Regions from separate parts of the Homo sapiens genome. Here region 2 is linked to region 1. The links are contacts of gene promoters, found by promoter capture Hi-C in human tissues and cell types (Jung and others, 2019). All regions are on one chromosome and are shown on one strand. Each heading gives the region's core, a stretch centred on a gene start or on the middle of the fragment in contact. The rest is flanking DNA. Distances are from core to core; before and after follow the strand shown.

What was found. Contacts are between HindIII fragments. The study calls those that stand out against the background at their distance.
Region 2: a contact is called between a fragment that was not itself captured here and the fragment with the promoter of VDAC3 in region 1, in 2 of the 25 tissues and cell types used here (IMR-90 fibroblasts and aorta).

What each region holds. Positions count from the first base shown.
Region 1 is chr8:42,390,581-42,397,553 of GRCh38, forward strand. VDAC3 (voltage dependent anion channel 3) reads left to right here and starts at 1,300. Exons shown (of 10, transcript NM_005662.7): 1 at 1,300-1,348; 2 at 3,265-3,304; 3 at 3,630-3,698; 4 at 4,504-4,553. The coding sequence starts at 3,632. It also overlaps a transcript of DKK4 not described here. RefSeq lists enhancers at 804-1,304, 1,305-1,805 and a silencer at 1,047-1,576. The HindIII fragment of the contact is 12,637 bases long and covers 1-2,420 here.
Region 2 is chr8:42,566,351-42,573,395 of GRCh38, forward strand. No RefSeq gene overlaps it. Among named protein-coding and RNA genes, the nearest start is that of SMIM19, 28 kb to the left of the region's middle. The HindIII fragment of the contact is 4,772 bases long and covers 1-4,442 here.

The DNA.
Region 1 (6,973 bases), core at 50-2,549:
TCTCGATCTCCTGACCTCATGATCCGCCCGCCTCTGCCTCCCAAAGTGCTGGGATTACAGGCTGCTTCCTTTAACCTAGAGCAGTTCACTAGCCTTTTTCCTAATCTTTCATGAAACTGACATTTTTGAAGACTGGGCAGTTGTCTTGCAGGTCTCTCAGTTTGGATTTGCCTGATTGTTTCGTCCTGAAGAGAGGCAAATTACACACTTTTACAAGAATATTATCTCTGTGTCCCTCTCTGTGCCTCACACCAGGGGCATATGTCAGTCCCTACCATCCCCCGTTTGATCAGTCTCTTTGATGTGAAGGTACCCTTTTCTCTTTAGTGAGTAATCTATGGGGGTGATACTTTGAAACCATATGAACATCCTCAACGGTCCACTGATCATTTCAGCCTGAATCAATTATTATCATGGTGGTTCCAAGACGATGATTTTCTATTTCTGTCATCTATTCTACCTTTATTAGTTGGTCTTCTCCTCTACAGAAGAGCTTTTTCTCCTCCACATCCTCTGCCCCTTTGAATTATCATCTCTCACTACTTGTGGGATCTTGAATCAATCACTTACTCCCTGGGGACCTGTGTATTCTCATCCTTAAGACGAGATGACCTAAGAGTGACACTCTTGAAGTCTGGTCAGTCTGAAATGAAATTCCCATAAGAGGCTGGGCGTGGGCTCAGGCCTGTGATCCCAGCACTCTGGTAGGCGCAGGCGGGCGGATCACTTATGCCGTGGAGTTCGAGACCAGCCTGGAAACATAGGGAGATTCCCGTCTTTACCAAAAAAAAAAAAAAAAAAAAATTAAATTAGCCGGGCGTGGTGGCGCGCTTCTGTGGACCCTCCTACTCAGGAGGCTTAGGCAGGAGGACGGCTTGAGCCCAGGAGGTCGAGGCTCCAGTGAGCCAAGATCGCGCCACTACACTCCGGCCTGCGGCATGCCTCAAACCTGGGGTCCGGCACCCTGCGGCCTTTTCGCGGCCGCACCCATGGCAACAGTTAACTAGCAACCTCGCGCATTCTCGCGAGAATGAGTCCCCTCAAGGGCACAGGTGCGGTCCCCAGCCTCTTGGGCCCCCAGTCAACCTCACTGTCCACACCGAGCCCTCCTGCGCACGCGCGCTGCGGAGCCGGACAGTTGGTGGTGCTGGCTTGGCCCGGCTGTTCGTCTCCGCGCCTTGCTCCGAAGCGCGCGACCGTGGCGCGACACGCCGGCGCACAGGCGCTCTCGGGGAGGGGCGGCGCGCAGGCGCGGCTGGGGGTGCGAGGCTGCGCAGGCGCGGACGGCGTTGGTTTGAAGACCTTCAGCGTTGCCCTGGCGGAGCAGAGACAGGCCCTCGGGGTGGAGGTGAGGAGAGCTGAGGCCGCGCGGGCTCCAGTCCCGGAGAGCGGTGGGCCGCGGCCGAGCAGAGCGCCAGGCGGGAGGCGGGCCTAACGGAGGCTCTGTGGGCAGGGAGCAGGCTACCGGGGCGCGGGGGGCCGGGGCCGCTCGCTCCCGCCGGGACCCGCCCGGGCCACCTCAGGCGATGGAGCCGCAGCACGGCGGGGCAAGTGGCCTCCGGGCGCGGGCAGCGACCTATCCCGCCGGCGTGTGGACCGCACTTTCCTCCCAGGGGTCAGCTAGAAAGGAGATCGGTTCTAGGGAAGTTGGATCCTCGAACCCCACACCCATCTCCCGCCCGCCCCTGCCCCCTCCTTACGGCCGAGGGAGGGTGCCCTGCGTGCAATTCAAAACGGAGAAGCGAGGAACGAAAAGGGCTCTGTACTGGCTGTCAAGTTAGTGGCTTTGTAAAGCAGTAGCAACCGGCTTAACGCCTTTCCCCGTCTGCGTCTCCTGCAGCCTCTGTGCAGTGTGCACATCTATGGGCAGGTGCATTCTGTAGAGCTGGTGGAGACGTGTGGTTGTAGCTTTACTCTCGAGGAACATGAAGTTTCTGTTGTTCTCGATTTTTGCTTGATCATACTAGCAGTGCATTTCCCATCAGAGTCATAGGCCTGAAAAAGTCAGCTTGAACTAGGCAGAATTGAGGTCAGTTAGTATACTAAACCAGCTACGTGACTTTTGCATAGTATCTCGTACTGGTTTTGAAAAATAACAAAACAAAATGCTGAAATATTGTAAATAGTCCCTAGACGTATATATAGTGCTTCTAAACATTTAAGTGTATCTTTTCTCGGCAGTATGAAAAACCAGACTGTAAAGCTTTAACATTTCTATTTCAATATATACTGCCTGCATTTCTATACTTACTTCCCAAATTACAGACTTCTGGCAAAATTTCAACAAATATCAACATCAGTTGTAATCATAAAGAGTAATATCAAATTGCAATTGGGATAATATAAAAAGCCTAGAATTGATCACTTTAGTACAAGGGATTGAATTGTAAAATAATCGTTCTGTAAGTGAATTATGAAACCTGGTAGCTTAGAGCAAAGTTTTACTATGGAATGAGTCAGTACATTTATACTACCGTTTCCTCTTTAATTTTTTTTTCTTTTTAGTTTTTTATACTAGTCTCTTTATATCATAGTGTCTGTCATATTTGACAGGTTTATGTTAAGGAACAAAACTTAAATGCATTCCCATTTAAGTGCATCATATGTATATGTTTGGTATGATGGGGTAGGCAGAAGCTTAGCAGAAGTCTGGATTAAGAGCTGGGCTATATATAAATAAATATGAGCTTAAATGTGTAGATCATTCAGGCGTAGCAATTGCAAGGGCTAGCTGGTACTCTGGATTTTTCTGACATATGGGCTAATGGCACTGCTAGAGGTGGCTCTGTAATTGGTTAGACATAGCTTTTGAGTCTGCGAGAGGAATACAGAAGAACCTGCTGCAGAAAGATTTCCCATGATACAAAGAGGGCAAAGGAATGAGATAATCAGCAGTGTTGATAGCTCTGAGAATTTGATATGAGGGTCATATTACCAGTAGCAAAGCTGGGCAGATTTTTAGTAGGCAAGATGAAAAATCAAGGCACCTGAGGTTTTTGAAGGCTTTAACTTCAGAGTTTACACTAACTTTTGGTAAGCAGGTTGCTGCAGGTAGAATCTGTCATATTTCTGGTTAATGGGTAAAATTATAGCACTTTAAGAAGAGCTTTGAGAGAAGATATATTCTAGATGAATACACTTCAATTCGTATGGTAAATTCTTATTTTAAGAACTGAATTTCAGAGGAGAAAAATGTTAACCCTGAGGATTTTGATTGCATCTTTTAACAGTTTCTTTAAAAATTTCCATTGTTGTCTTATACAGGTCTTTGGTTTCATAAGAGCCTGAGAGAGATTTTTCTAAGGTAAATTTTGCATATATTTTTAAAAGAAGTCCAGTTTAACATAGCATCTTTTTCATCCTGTAAGAACTTACTTTTCTTTGAAATGCAATCAGAAAGATGACCTCTGAATCTCACGGGAAAACTGTTTTATTCTCAGTATTCTGGAAAGGTCTGTTTTTTAAGGAGCAGACTGCTGTCTCATACCTTTGATTGCATTAAAGCATTAATGATACACAGGAAGAGAAAACTGTATACCCCTTCTCACAGGATTAAACAGCAGAAGAACTGTGGGTGAATAAATACTAAATGGTTATTTTTATTCCTTTGCCCTGTTTTTCTTTATAAGATATGTGTAACACACCAACGTACTGTGACCTAGGAAAGGCTGCTAAGGATGTCTTCAACAAAGGATATGGTAAGTATGCTATTGTAACTTTCCAGTTTGGGGTAAAGGTTAGTGTTGAATGCCTACTGTGTGTAAATACTGTGTTAGTAAAATAAGGGTAAGTCAGCATTATTCCACTTCACAAGATTTAAGGGGATAACTATTAACAGGCTATTAGACCTCATTCTTTAGAGGCAGAACCCCTTACAAGCATTAAAAGCAATTATATACATATACAGATGCATATACATGTCCATATTTAATGTTATCTGGAATGTAGAATAATATATATAACATTTATGTCTCTTTGTCTGGCCCTGAGGACAATTAAATTAGGGGGTAGAACTTTTCCTCCCTCCAAACAGTGGCATTGTTTTTATGAAAGTGACAACATAACTTTTGACTTCTTTGGAGTAATGTATATTCTGATCCTAAATAAATATTTTTTAGGTTTTAAAATTTAACTTAAATTTATGTGCTGTACATATTTGATTTTTTCTTATTAACTAGTAATGTTAACTATATTTTAAACGATATATATAGCAGCACACTATTTTCAGCAATTTTGATTCTTGGAATAGTGCATATTCCTTTCATTTATTTTTTTCTTTAACTTACATTTTAAAAGTATATCTTTATTCATTTTGAGTGCTTGAAAATTATACTGCATTTATTTGGTTATAATTCAGTTTCTTGAGGAACTCTCACCCAATGAAAATACTATGCATTTTTCATATGGAAGGTACTATAGGCTATTTCATAATTTCTGAGTTGCAAAAACTAGTGAATGTCACATTTTGTACATTACTGTGTTTTTGTGTGTGTGTGTGTATAGGCTTTGGCATGGTCAAGATAGACCTGAAAACCAAGTCTTGTAGTGGAGTGGTGAGTATCTAATATATTTTTAATGAATGTAACATAATTAACTTAAAGGAATCTGTTTAAAATCATGACAGTCTAGTTACTTGAACCAGCACCATGCTGTCTTCCCCACAGCTTTGTCCTCTCAGATTTTAAACAGCATTCTTAGCCAATTAAAATAAACAACCAAGTTGAATTTTTGAAGAGACCTTTTGTGTTTCTCAGAGTATACTACAGCTTTCACTCAGAAGATGTAGAATATATATTTTTTGACCCATGTCATATGTTTATACTTTCATGAATATGTATATGGGCACCAAAAACCTCACTTCCATGATAATGGGTTCATGGAAATTTTATTACCCTTTTACAAAAACAAATTAACTTTACTCTGCCCCTTCATGATTAGTCGAAACAAAATATGTAAATAAAATGTATTTCTGCACGTATGCATGTACATTATTCTACAGTTTTTAACTGATGTTTATAAAGTTTTTTTTATTGGAAGTAAAGACTACAGTAAAGGCTATGTTGGCATATTTTCAAAGTATCATTAACAATAGCTTTTGGCTGGGTGCAGCGGCTCACACCTGTAATCCCAGCACTTTGGGAGGCCGAGGTGGGCGGGTCATGAGGTCAGGAGTTCGAGACCAGCCTGGTCAACATTCTGAAACCCCGTCTCTACTAAAAATATACCAAAAATTAGCTGGGTGTGGTGGCACGCACATAGTCCCAGCTACTCGGGAGGCTGAGGCGGGAGAATCTCTTGAACCTGGGAGGTGGAGGTTTCAGTGAGCCGAGACCAAGCCATTGCACTCCAGCCTGGGTGACAGAGTGAGACTTTGTCTTAAAAAAAAAAAAAAAAAGGCCAGGTGCGGTGGCTCACGCCTGTGATCCCAGCACTTTGGGAGGCCAAGGCGGGCGGATCACGAGGTCAGGAGATTGAGACCATCCTGGCTAATATGGTGAAACCCCGTCTCTACTAAAAATACAAAAAAATTAGCCAGACCTGATGACGGGTGCCTGTAGTCCTGGCTACTTGGGAGGCTGAGGCAGGAGAATGGCATGAACCCAGGAGGCAGAGGTTGCAGTGAGCAGAGATCGTGCCACTGTACTCCATCCAGCCTGGGCAACAGTGCAAGACTCCGTCTCAGAAAAAATTGCTTTTATTTAATAAATCTCAGCAAGTAGGTTAAGTTTTAATTTACCTTACTCTGATTTCTCCTCATTGGCTGCATCGTTTTTGGTATTTATCCATTCAAACCCATGAAAATTTTATTTCTGAATGTATAATTAGAAGGACAAAGACATGTGGAATTCTAATGATACTGTGTATAATCATGGTTTGTGACCATCATTCTTTCCCTGGGTTTCTCTGGAGTAAATAAATATATATGCACCTCCCTTACTAAGATGGGCACGCTGTGTATATAGTTCTGTTAAAATAGAAGAATCATTCTCATTTTGTGTAGGTTCCAGAATTTGCTCATTAGGTTTGTGTTGCAAAAATTATCAACTAAAATTTTATCTCCCTTTCATGCTGCTGTTGTGTGGTAATATTCATTCAGATGGTAAGAAAAAAAAGCTTATTCGTATGCTTGTTTTTATGGCTGCTTTTGGTTTCTGGTATTGATTTAGGATAAATTTCAATCATTGTTCCAAATTTCTTAGATTGTGTCTTGATATTTTTCTCATATGCTATCTACTTAACAGTAACATTTTTGTTTGTTTTGTTGCTTACTAAGCATTTAATGTAGAGCTATATGCATGTTATATGCATGTTATAAATGTGTTTTGCACTTGTTTGACCAAATTATGAAATTAGACACAAACTGAACTGTGAATCGTGAGCCTGGAACTCAACTTAGAACAATTCTAGCCTTTTTTTCTGAGATTTGTACCTGTGGCATTTTAGATTCGTGACAGACCTTCAAACTAAGAATTGATGCTGACAAGGGAGAAATGTAGACTACCCCTCTACCTTAATTTTGTGCATAAGGTTTTTCTAGCACCAAAATTAAGATTTGCATTTGTTATACTTGTCAAGTTTGTGAAAAGTAAATGTAAAAAATAAAACACTAGATAGTTGGATCTACTAAAAGAAAAATGATTGTCACGTTAAAATAATTATGTGAACAGTTAAACATGATTAACATGTTATCATTTTTTTTTTACTAAGGCCTTCCCCTAAATGTGCAGCATGATACTCTCTTTGAAACCATTCTGTGTGGTTTGATAAACAGAACATAACTTCCCAGTTGTCTCATCTGCCTGTAGAACTAGAGTTAGGGGACAGGGCATTTGTTAAGGAGAGGATTCATGTTGCAGGCAGTGAAAAAGACTGGTCAGGGTTGGCAGCATCTCATTACTGTTGGCAGGATTTCAGAAATGCTCCCTAAAACAGGACCAATCAGAATGTTTTTTCTTGACAGTTCATAGATTGT
Region 2 (7,045 bases), core at 807-3,306, 180 kb after region 1:
CTCTTTTTCAGGGTTTGCAGGTCAAATTGGTCCCAATGGCTTAGGATGCATTTCAAGGGTGAGCCTGTTGTTGCCTGAGTGTTTCCCATCTGAAAGACAAAACTGCCCATGGTTTTGGTTTGTTTGTTTCTCCCCCTGCCCAAGAACCCACAACGGTCCCTGGATCCTGCTGATTGGAATAGTTGCACTCACTGAGGCAGCAGCAGAAACACCTCTTGCCCAAGAACCCACAATGGTCCCTGGACCCTGCTGATTGGAATAGTTGTGCTAACCGATGCAGCAGCAGCAGCCTCTTGCCCAAGAACCTGCAATGGTCCATGGACCCTCCTGATCAGAAAAGTTGGACTCACCGACACAGCAGCAGAAACACTAGTTTTCCTCCTAGACTATAAGGAGGACGGAGGAATGTCAGATCAGATTTAGTGGCTCTTACTGATGCATTCTCAAAAACCTGCACCCTTGCCTGTCCTCCTAGGCTGCAAAGAGGACTGAGAAAAATCGGATTTGGTGGCCCTTACCAATGCATTCTTGAAAACCTGTTAGAGTCCTAAGCATTCTCCTGTTAGTATTGGGACTTTACCTGTGTCCCATAAAGATGTTATCCCCCAAAAATGAAGTGGAGGGCCATACCCTGAGAGAGGGAAGGGATCTCCAGAGTTGGAAGGGTGATGCCTTTTGTCCTCACGTATATGAATAGGAAGGATACAATTTCTGAGGCTCCCCACATCCTAGCTTCAGGAATAGCTTTTTTTAGGCCTGCTAGTCTGAGGAGGGATCCTAAAATTCCAGATAAGATAGTCCCCCCCCGCCAACAGGGCTTTGGGCAAAAATTATATCTTTCTGATTGGTGAGACTGGGTGCCTAAAGAAGGTAACAGAGTCCTGGAGTTTATACTAGAAATAATTCTTATAGGAGAAACTAGAAAAGCACCAGAGACAGGGAGTGGTTTTTAGAAGTGGGACTAGCCTTGGAGAAGAGAGGCGAGAGGAAGTTTGTCTGACAGGCATTAGGACCCAGGAGGCAAGGGTCAGGATAGATAGGATAGATGGGTGAGTCTCGCTTGGGCGATGTGACTTTGAGAGTTCCACTCATGGCTGCAGGGTCAAACAACTTGCTGTCAGGACCCTAGGAACTGAATGGCTTTCCTCTCTGTTGACCCTAGGCTCAGCCCAGAAGTACAGGAAAAGCAGAAGCTGGTTCCAGGCAAACCAACACTCCCAACTCCAAAGAATCAGGGGTTGTTAGAGAGCCCTTTCCCAGAAAGCCTGACACCTGTGTCTTTAGTCTGGCGGCCACACTAGCCACTTTTAACTGGCCAACAGGTGTCCAGTATTTAGCCCCCGAATTCTAAGGAAAAATAGGACAGAATAGCAAGCGAAAGGGGTCTGATGGTACTCACCGCTTAGCGATAGGCAATAGTCCCTTCGTGATCGCCAAAATGTGTCCAGTATTGATTCCTTCTGGTGGGTTCCTGGCCTTGCTGACTTCAAGAATGAAGCTGCGGACCCTCATGGTGAGTGTCACAGTTCTTAAAGATGGTGTGTCTGGAGTTTTTTCCTTCAGTTGTTCAGATGTGTCGAGTTTCTTCCTTCCAGTGCGTTTGTGGTCTCACTGACTTCAGGAGTGAAGCTGCAGACCTTCCCAGTGAGCGTTACAGCTTTTAAAGGTGGCACATCCAGAGTTGTTTGTTCCTCCCAGTAGTTTCGTGGTCTCACTGACTTCAGGAGTGAAGCCACAGACCTTTGCAGTGAGTGTTACAGCTCTTAAAGGTAATGCAGACCCAAAGAGTGAGCAGCAGCAAGATTTATTGTGAAGAGCAAAAGAACAAAGCTTCCACAGCATGAAAGGGGACCCAAGCAGGTTGCCACTGCTGGCTCGGGTGGCCAGTTTTTATTCCCTTATTTGGCCCCACCCACATCGTGCTGATTGGTCCATTTTACAGGGCGCTGATTGGTCTATTTTACAGAGTGCTGATTGGTGCATTTACAAACCTTTAGCTAGACACACAGTGCTGATTGGTGGGTTTACAATCCTTTAGCTAGACAAAAAAGTTCTCCAAGTCCCCACCTGACCCAGAAGCCCAGCTGGCTTCACCTCTCAAGAGGACAGCAGATAATAATCTTTTTTTTTTTTTTTTTTTGATGGAGTCTCACTGTCTCACCCAGGCTGGAGTGCAGTGGTGCAATCTCGGCTAACTGCAACCTCTGCCTCCCAGGTTCAAGCAGTTCTCTGCCTCAGCCTCCCGAGTAGCTGGGATTACCATCACCTGCCAGCATGCCTGGCTAATTTTTGTGTTTTTAGTAGAGATGGGGGTTCAGGCTGGTCCTGAACTCCTGACCTTGTGATCCACCTGCCTTGGCCTCCTAAAGTGCTGGGATTACAGTCGTGAGCCACCGCACCCGGCCAGCAGATAATAATCTTTTGGTCACCACCTTAGGCATGAATAAAAGTGAACGTGTGAGTGACCCTTCCAGTCCTGAACTTTTTCAGTGTTGAGAAATGTGAAGATTAGATAGGGAAAAAATGTTTGCCCAGGGGCAAATGGGAGTGTTACAAAGGCAGGTATATAAAAAGATGGTTTCTGACAAACATATGGTAAAATACTATATATACGAATGTTTTTAACTTAGAACTGGTTTTAGAAAAACACACACACAAATAAAACTTTATTTCCTTTCCTCTCATGTCAAGTTTTTCCTTGATCCACTGTAGTACCTTGAGATAGTGAAAGGTGAAGCCAGCTGTACTTCCTGGGTCGAGTGGGGACTTGGAGAACTTTTCTGTCTAGCTAGAGGATTGTAAATGCACCAATCAGTGCTCTGTGTCTAGATAAAGGATTGTAAATGGACCAATCAGTACTCTGTAAAATGGACCAATCAGTACTCTGTAAAATGGACCAATCAGCAGGATGTGGGCGGGGCCAGATAAGGAAAGAAAAGCTGGCCACCCGAGCCATCAGCGGCAACCGACTCGGGTCCCCTTCCACACTGTGAAAGCTTTGTTCTTTTGCTCCTCACAATAAGTCTTGCTGCTGCTCACTCTTTGGGTCCGCACCATCTTTAAGAGCTGTAACACCACAAAGGTCTGCAGCTTCATTCTTGAAGTCAGCGAGACCTAGAACTCACTGGAAGGAATAAATTCCGGACACAATAGTAGGTGTTTAACAAATATTTACTTAATCAAATCAGGTTGAATCCAGTGCCATGCTGTCTCAGAAAGCAGCAGGTCTATGGAATAACTTCATCCTCATAGCTTCTTCCCCTCAGCACAAAAGAGAGGAACAGGGATTCTACCATTCTTGCAGCTCTTTGCTGGCAGTCCAGTGCATGTTGTGAAAGTTAGTAAAGCTCCACAACTTATGCTATTAATACCCTCCAAAAAGCAGAATGGATTTTCCCCTCAAAAAGGAAGAAAGGATTTTCCCCTCAAAACACTCCAGAGCACAGTGTTCTAGATAATTTTCAGGTTTTGTTTTTGTTTTGAGATAGAGTCTTGCCACGTTGCCCAGGCTGAAGTGCAGTGGCATGATCTCGGCTCACTACAACCTCCACTTCCTGAGTTCAAGCGATTCTCCTGCCTCAGCCTTCCTAGTAGCTGGGATCACAGGTGCCTTCCACCATGCCCAGCTAATTTTTTGTATTTTTAGTAGAGATGGGTTTTCACCATGTTGGCCAAGCTGGTCTTGAACTGTCAACCTCAGGTGATCCACCCGCCTTGGCCTCCCAAAGCGCAGGGATTACAGGTGTGAGTCACTGCACCCAGCGAGGAGTTAAAATTTTTAAAAAATATATATAATTATTCTTTGAAAGTGTTCAGTAACAAACTTTCCATTTATCATGCCAATGAAAGTGGTTACATGGAAAAACTGCAAAAGCAAACAATCCAAGTTACACATTTGCTTTTCCAAATTAGTTTGCTATACCAGCATTTTAATTGGTTTGCCATCTCTAAGCTCCTACAATTAATGATCATTCCAGCAAACACAAATCCATTTGCATTCTAAAGGGAAGGAACTATAAAGGGGTTGCAAGTGACCTACAAACTTCCCAGTTGGTATTTGGGCAATCTTGGGTGGACCAATCACATGTTTAACCCTATCTTATGTCCCATTTTAAGACTGACAAAAACCAAGGCCGGGTGCAGTGGCTCACGCCTGTAATCCCAGCACTTTGGGAGGCCAAGGCAGGTGGATCACAAGGTCAGGAGATTGAGACCAGCCTGGCCAACATGGTGAAACCCCATCTCTACTAAAAATACAAAAATTAGCTGGGTGTGGCAGGAGAATCGCTTGAACCGGGGAGGCAGGTGTTGCAGTGAGCCAAGATCCTGCCACTGCACTCCAGCCTGGCGACAGAGCGAGACTCCATCTCCAAATTAAAAAAAGAAAGGAAAAAAAAGAAAGATAAGAGTAGTCATGGTGCAGGTGATTTTATTACACATTAACTTTTTCCATTTTTATATTCAGACTTAGCAAATTACCACAGTAGTCCAAGTGTCACAACATCATGTTTTGAATTTATTTGAGTCACCATCTTCCACAGTTTATAGTATTTATTTATTTATTTATTTTTGAGACAGAGTCTCACTCTATTGCCTAGGCTAGAGTGCAATGGTGTGATCTCGTCTCACTGAAAACTTCGCCTCCTAAATTCAAGCTGTTCTCTGCCTCAGCCTCCCGAGTAGCTGGGATTACAGGTGCCCACCACCATGTCTGGCTAATTTTTGTATTTTTAGTACAGATAGGGTTTCACTATGTTGGCCAGGCTGGTCTTGAACTCCTGACCTTGTGATTAACCCGCCTCAGCCTCCCAAAGTGCTGGGATTATAGGTGTGAACCACCACGCCTGGCCCATTTTTTTTTTTTAAGATAAAGTCTGGGTCTGTCACCCAGGCTGAAATGCAGTGGCATGATCCTAGCTCACTGCAGCCTCGACCTCCTGGGCTCAAGCAGTCATCCCACCTCAGCCTCCTGAGTAGCTGGAACTACAGATTTGTGCCATCATGCCTGGCTAATTTTTTTTTTTTTTTTTTTTTTGAGATGGGGTCTTGCTCTGTTGCTCAGGCTGGTCTTAAACTCCTGGCCTCAAGTGATCCTCCAGCCTCCCAGAGTGTTGGGATGATAGGCGTACACCACCACACCCTGCCCACAGCTTATAGTTCTTAAGCAAAGTCTAACATCCCATTACTGTCTTACATATCAATAAAACATTGATAATCAAACATTGTGTATTGGAAACTGACTGCTACTGAGGAAATATGTCAACAGCCCAGATCACTGAAGAAGGTGCCAGCCTGGCTAATCACAGATAAACTTTACACCCCCTTTTGAGCAGTCAGGGCTTTTATCAGCAAATCTTTCTGGGAAAGGATTTGCTCCCTTTCTTCTTGGAAACTTTTGATCATCAGAGTCAGCTCTCTCTTTTCATCTTTCAGACTTGTGATGTTTTCCACAGAGGACTGGAGACTGGGTTTTAGACATGCAAGTTCCAAGGACAGATTTTCATTTATCTACAAATTATAAATGACTAAAAAGTGGTTGAAAAGTTAATTACTCAGAATTTGCTTATTTAATTGCATTCTAACTTTACTTGAAGTTCTGGATGTTTTTGGCTCCTTCTAAGCTGCCTTATTTAATGGCCTGTGGTCCGTTGCCACGGCAAAACAGAATTAACAATTCTTACTTATGCAAACTTAATACTTGTCAAATATACGCTTTCTTTGTTAAAAAAAAAAAAAAAAGACCTTGGCAAATCTAGTAGGCTTCAAAAGGATTATAAATTTTTAGAAACCTACTCCTTAATTATAGCCGTTTAGAAATTTGAGATGAACACATTAACAACATATGACAAATGTAGACACAGTTCTGCTCACTAACAGCTTTGACTGAAGCTTGACATTTGCTTTTTCAAGCTGTTTGAAAGTAATTTTAGCTCCTAACTATTCTGAATGGAGGGAAGTCACTTCATGGTCCAAATAATCTTTTTCCTTCTGAACTCTATTATTACTTGTCGTTATTGGCCAGTTGAAAGGATCAAGTTTATCTTTCTCCTAAGTAATTAAAATAAAATTTGACTTTTGTTCAGTTTGTATTGTTATATTTAGTGCAATCAAAGGCAACTCTATGTTTCTGTGTATTATAGGACAAGTTTGAAAGCAACAATGTAGGTAGAAAATGAGTTAGGTAACGACTCAGTTAATAGAACACAGGACTAGAAACAGTTCCAGCATATTCCAATCTATGCTGTATCTGTTTGAATTTGAGGATATTATTATTGTTGTTGTTGTTGTTTTTGAGATGGAGTCTTGCTCTGTCGCCCAGGCTGGAGTGCCGTGGCGCGATCTCAGCTCACTGCAAGCTCCGCCTCCCGGGTTCAGGCCATTCTCCTGCCTCAGTCTCCTGAGTAGCTGGGACTATAGGTGCCCGCCACCATGCCCGGCTAATTTTTTGTATTTTTAGTAGAGACGGGGTTTCACCGTGTTATCCAGGATGGTCTAGATCTCCTGACCTTGTGATCTGCCCACCTCGGCCTCCCAAAGTGTTGGGATTACAGGCGTGAGCCACCGCGCCCGGCCGAATTTGAGCATATTATTAACCTTGGTAGGCTTCACTTTGTTCATCTGCTAAGAATAAGACTTCCTTTACCCTAGAATGTTCATTCTAAGTGATACACAATTTAAGCCCCTTGGAAGACAATGTAAAATCCTTTGTTATTATTTAATGTAGTTTTTAATAGGTTACCAACGTATATACTCAAGAGTCTGAAAGAGTAAAATCAGGTATGCATGGAGTCTCTAATCCCTCCAGGCTATGAGAGTTTGTATTTTCTAGCTTTCCCTGCCGTCCCAGGTAAAGGTACTGGCGAATGAAATCTTCTGAAGTACACGAAGCAAGCCATCTCAACAAACTGCCATTTATGAACACATAGCTAGGTATCCCTCCCTCTGAGTACATTTTTAAAGCTTTCAGTTTTCTGTATCATCCTTCATATCCCTGTTTTTCAGATAGAAATATGGACACAGAGAAATTAGAGGAGAGGGAACATTC